Linked DNA regions of Homo sapiens: region 2 is linked to region 1. Evidence: promoter capture Hi-C in 16 types of primary human blood cells and fetal thymus (Javierre and others, 2016). All regions are on one chromosome and are shown on one strand. Each heading gives the region's core, a stretch centred on a gene start or on the middle of the fragment in contact. The rest is flanking DNA. Distances are from core to core; before and after follow the strand shown.

Evidence for each region. Contacts are between HindIII fragments. The CHiCAGO score rates a contact against its expected background, and 5 or more counts as called.
Region 2: the fragment with the promoter of ASPRV1 here is called in contact with a fragment that was not itself captured in region 1 in 6 of 17 cell types (total CD8 T cells, naive CD8 T cells, total CD4 T cells and 3 more); the score reaches 9.7 in total CD8 T cells.

The regions. Positions count from the first base shown.
Region 1 is chr2:70,161,400-70,164,198 of GRCh38, reverse strand. All of the region lies in intron 8 of C2orf42 (chromosome 2 open reading frame 42), which reads left to right. Among named protein-coding and RNA genes, the nearest start is that of C2orf42, 28 kb to the left of the region's middle. The HindIII fragment of the contact is 4,638 bases long and covers 1-2,799 here.
Region 2 is chr2:69,960,376-69,963,167 of GRCh38, reverse strand. It overlaps ASPRV1 (aspartic peptidase retroviral like 1), which reads left to right and starts at 1,537. Exons shown (of 1, transcript NM_152792.4): 1 at 1,537-2,792. The coding sequence starts at 1,732. The coding sequence ends at 2,511. PCBP1-AS1 (PCBP1 antisense RNA 1) reads left to right here. Exons shown (of 11, transcript NR_033872.1): 11 at 1-905. RefSeq lists a silencer at 1,357-1,651. The HindIII fragment of the contact is 12,271 bases long and covers 1-2,792 here.

The DNA of each region.
Region 1 (2,799 bases), core at 78-2,577:
CCTGAGTAGCTTGGACTACAGGCATATGCCACCATGCCCAGCTAATTTTTGTAGAGATGGGGTTTCCCCATGTTGCCCAGGCTGGTCTCAAATTCCTGGACTCGAGCAATCTGTCTGCCGCAGTCTCCCAAAGTGCTGGGATTACAGGCATGAGCCACCAGGCCCACCCTATTAATTAAAAAAAAAAAAAAATTTAAGATAGGGTCTTGCTATGTTGCCCAGGCTGGTCTCAAATTCCTGGGTTCAAGCAGTCCTCCCATCTTGGCCTCCCAAAGTACTGTGATTACAGGTGTAATCTGCCTCTTCCAGCCACACTAGACATTTTATGTTTTTATTTTTATTTTTTGGAGACAGAGTCTCTTGCTCTGTTGCCCAGGCTGCAGTGCAGTGGCACGATCTCGGCTCACTGTAACCTCCACCTCCCAGGTTCAAGCAGTTCTCATGCCTCAACCTCCTGAGTAGCTGGGACTATAGGCACGCACCATCATGCCTGGCTAATTTTTGTATTTTTAGTAGAGACAGGGTTTTGCCATGTTGGCCAGGCTGGTCTCAAGCTCCTGATCTCAAGTGATCCGCCCACCTTGGCTTCCCAAAGTGCATGGATTACAGGCGTGAGCCCCTGTGCCTGTCTTACACATTTTAAAATGTTTTTCGGGCTGGGTGCGGTGGCTCACGCCTGTAATCACAGCACTTTGGGAGGCCGAGGCGGGTGGATCACGAGGTCAGGAGATCGAGACCATCCTGGCTAACACAGTGAAACCCCGTCTCTACTAAAAATACAAAAAAATTAGCCGGGCATGGTGGCAGGCTCCTGTAGTCCCAGCTACTCGGGAGGCTGAGTCAGGAGAATGGTGTGAACCCGGGAGGCGGAGCTTGCAGTGAGCCGAGATCGCACCACTGCACTCCAGCCTGGGCGACAGAGCAAGACGCTGTCTCAAAAAATATATATGTATGTATGTTTTTCAAGTAGATCCTGAAAATCTGAGATGGAGTTTTTTTTCCTACAGTAATAGAATTATGTAGAAAATTCAGGCCGCGCACGGTGGCTCACACCTGTAATCTCAGCACTTTGGGAGGCTAAGGCAGGTGGATCACCTGAGGTCAGGAGTTTGAGACCAGCCTGGCCAACATGGTGAAACCCCGTCACAACTAAAAATACAAAAATTATCCAGGCATGGTGGCAGGCACCTGTAATCCCAGCTACTTGGGAGGCTGAGGCAGGAGAATCGCTTGAACCCGGGAGGCGGAGGTTGCAGTGAGCTGAGGTTGCGCCATTGCACTCCAGCCTGGGGGACAAGATCGAGACTTCGTCTCCAAAAAAGTAGAAAATTCAGCATAATGTGATTTGATACATTAAGAGTAGCTTAATTGCAAGGCATTCTTCTGTTCAGGAAAAAAAAATAAGTTGTTTGATAGCTACAGAATTTACATGTGAGCCAGGCATGGTGGCTATAATACCAGCGATTTAGGAGGCTGAGATGAAGGATTGCTTGAGGCCAGGAGTTCAAGACCAGCCTAGGCAACACAGCGAGGCCCCTACTATTTTTTTTTTGTTTGAGACAGAGTCTCACTCTGTTGTCTAGGCTGGAATGCAGGGCACAATCTTGGCTCACTGCAGCCTCTGCCTCCCAGGTTCAAGCAATTCTCCCACCTCAGCCTCCCGAGTAGCTGGGATTACAAGCGCACCATCCTGCCCAGCTAATTTGTATTTTTAGTAGAGACAGGCTTTCACCATGTTGACCAGGCTGGTCCCAAGCTCCTGACCTCAGGTGATCCACCCTCCTTGGCTTCCCAAAGTGCTGGGATTACAGGCGTGAGCCAGTGCGCCAGGCCAGCAAAGGCCCCTACTCTTAAAAAAATAAAAAGAAAGAAAGAAAGAAAGCAAAAGAGGCTGGCGAGGTGGCTCATGCCTGTAATCCCAGCACTTTGGGAGGCCAAGGTGGGCAGATCACCTGAGGTCAGGGGTTTGAGACCAGCTTCGCCAACATGGTGAAAACCCGTCTCTACTAGAATACAAAAATTAGCCGGGCGTGGTGGCTTGCTCCTGTAATCCCAGCTACTCGGGAGGCTGAGGCAGGAGAATCACTTGAACCTGGGAGGCGGAGGTTGCAGTGAACTGAGATCGTGCCACTGCATTCTAGCCTGGGTGACAGAGCTAGACTCCATCTCCAAAAAAAAAGAAAAAAAGAAAAAGTGAGGCCTGGTGGTGTGTGCCTATAGTCCCAACCACTAAGAAAGCTGAAGCAAGAGGATCACTTGAGCCTGGGAGTTGGAGGCTACAGTGAGCCATGATTGTGCCACTGTACTCCAGCAGGGGCAACCAAGTGAGACCTTGACTCTTTTTTTTTTTTTTTTTTTGACACGGACTTTCACTCTTGTGGCCCAGTCTGGAGTGCAATCATGTGATCTTGGCTCACCTCAACCTCCACCTCCCAGGTTCAAGCGATTCTCCTGCCTCAGCCTTCTGAGTAGCTGGGATTACAGGCGTCTGCCACCACGCCTGGCTAATTTTGTATTTTTAGTAGAGATGAGGTTTCTCCATGTTGGTCAGGCTGGTCTCAAACTCCCGACCTCAGGTGATCCGCCTACCTCAGCCTCCCAAAGTTCTGGGATTACAGGCGTGAGCCACCACTCCTAGCGACCTTGCCTCTTAAAAAAAGTAAATACATGTGAACCCTAGAAAAGGGCTGTGTTGGCATTAAAAACACTTGAGGAACTCCTTTAAATGCACATGGCACAGAGGCAGTTTTTAGCCTGGAATGGATGACATTTAGGGAGACACTGAAGCAACTCAGGGTG
Region 2 (2,792 bases), core at 288-2,787, 200 kb after region 1:
TGAATCAGGTGGAAGGGGCTGGGGACAGCACAGTCTTGCATTGTGGTTGGGGACCTGGGCCATCCAGAGGCAGGACTGTCCAAAGGCAGGGTACTGCTGGGATTCCGCCAGGCACTGGGTGATGCATGGCATAGGGAGCTGAAGAGGGACAGGCTCTTGGCCAGGAAAAACAGCCCCAGAGCCACAGGTGTGCCATCGAGTCTTCCTCCTCTCCCATCCTTAATCACTCCTGTTTGGTGACAGCACACAGCTAGGCCTGGAGCCCAGCAAAGAGCCCCTGGGTCCCAGAGGAAGTTGTTCTGGGGGCTGGAGACAATCACAAATGCCAGGTTTGTGAGCCCCAGACTCTGGTTCATAGCAAGAGGCAGACTTGTGAACAAACCACCAGATCACACCGTAAAACACGCTCAACGAGGAGTGGGTGCCCTTTCTAGGGACAGGCAGAAGGCTCCATGGAGTGACCTTTGAATGGGGACATAAAAGTGGATCCCTTCAACAGCCCCTGCACAGCCCCAAGTCAGGCCTCCAGCCCTTGGACTCACAGATGTCCTCTGTAGACGACTGGATGTCCTCCCGTGCTACCCTTTACCCCTGCAGCGAGGGGCACAGAGCCAGAGCCCTCCAGGTCCTCACCACTGGCATCACCAACATAGTGGACATTTTCCCTCTCAGAATGAAAAGGGAGTGAAATTTCCCGTGATCTTTCCACAAATGACCAGCTTGGGGAGTGGGAGAGGAAGTGCTGCAGTGCCTGGGGAAGGGGCCCTGGAACAGTTCCTGGAAATGGAGAGGGGTGGATAGGGTGGAGACAATGCTCATGGAGTGCAGTATGGGGCCTACCCAGAGTTGCTTGGCCACCCCTCTGCCTCTGAATCAGGGGTGATCAATGAAGGAAAATTACTGCAGCAGTTGAGTCCATGTAAGATGATTGTGCACGTGTGTGTGTGTGTGTGTGTGTGTGTGTGTGTCCTCACTCACTTAAAAAAGACCATTTCTGTGCATTCTTTATGCTGGAACCCTCCTCTGCCTCCCTCTCCAGGAAATCCCATAGGATCCCATACCTGCTTTAGAATGTGTGTGAGACACTTCCCAGTGCCTGGCATGTGGTAGGAGCTCAGTACATGTAAACTGTTTTCCTTTGACCACTCAAAGTAGTCACTTGTTGGGGAGGCCAATGGCGGCTTCCCCGGTCTCTGAGCTGATGGGCGTCTGGTCCCTGCCTCCCCTTCCTTCACTGGCTGATGACAAATACCTGAATGTCATCACATCCTCCGTGTCCTCATCTGTTATTCTGGAACACAGGCCAGGGAGGGTACAGGGTAGTCCCCCTTCAACAGAGGCTGGCCTTTCTTGGGATGTGGGCTGGCTGGTGTTGGTCCAAGGATGGATGCAGAGGGTGAGGCACCCATCCTGCTAGTCCGGCCGGATGCTGGCAGGAGGGCGGGGTGAGGAGGGGCGGAGCTTCCAGAACAAAGGAGAATGGGGAGCCCAGGGGCCAGCCTAGGCATCAAAAAGGCTCTGCAGAGTGAACAGGCCACAGCACTGCCTGCCTCTGCCCCAGCAGTCAGCCAGCCGACCGCGCCTGCTCCCTCCTGCTTGCCCAAGGCCGGGCAAGTCATCCCCACTCTGCTTCGAGAGGCCCCGTTTTCCAGCGTGATTGCGCCGACACTGCTCTGTGGGTTTCTCTTCTTGGCGTGGGTTGCTGCTGAGGTTCCAGAGGAGAGCAGCAGGATGGCCGGGAGCGGAGCCAGGAGTGAGGAAGGCCGCCGGCAGCATGCCTTCGTCCCGGAACCTTTTGATGGGGCCAATGTCGTCCCAAACCTCTGGCTGCACAGCTTTGAAGTCATCAATGACCTCAACCATTGGGACCATATCACCAAGCTAAGGTTCCTGAAAGAGTCCCTCAGAGGAGAGGCCCTGGGTGTCTACAATAGGCTCAGTCCCCAGGACCAGGGAGACTATGGGACTGTGAAAGAGGCCCTCCTGAAGGCCTTTGGGGTCCCTGGGGCTGCCCCCAGCCACCTGCCCAAAGAGATCGTCTTTGCCAACAGCATGGGTAAGGGCTACTATCTCAAGGGGAAGATTGGCAAAGTGCCCGTGAGGTTCCTGGTGGACTCTGGGGCCCAGGTCTCTGTGGTCCACCCAAACTTGTGGGAGGAGGTCACTGATGGCGATCTGGACACCCTGCAGCCCTTTGAGAATGTGGTAAAGGTGGCCAATGGTGCTGAAATGAAGATCCTGGGTGTCTGGGATACAGCGGTGTCCCTAGGCAAGCTGAAGCTGAAGGCACAGTTCCTAGTGGCCAATGCGAGTGCCGAGGAAGCCATCATTGGCACTGATGTGCTCCAGGACCACAATGCTATCCTGGACTTTGAGCACCGCACATGCACCCTGAAAGGGAAGAAGTTTCGCCTTCTGCCTGTGGGAGGGTCCCTGGAAGATGAGTTTGACCTGGAGCTCATAGAGGAGGACCCCTCCTCAGAAGAAGGGCGGCAGGAGCTATCCCACTGAGAAGCCACCTTTTCTTTAACCTCCTAAATATTGGTGGGAAGACCCACCGCTGTGGGGGGGGTTGCATATCCTCATGGGGGTCACTGGGCTTGGCCAGTCTGCTTATCAACTCTTGCTCTTCTCTCCCCTTTGCCTCCCTCTGCAGGGGCCTTAATCTGCCCCTGGTAGGGGAGGCTTCCACTGAACAGGCACAGGTGAGGGAGAGCAGGCTGGCTTAGAGGGACAGGGTCCCCATGGTCATCAAGCTGCTGTTGATGACAAAGACTCAAAGGCTGGAAGAG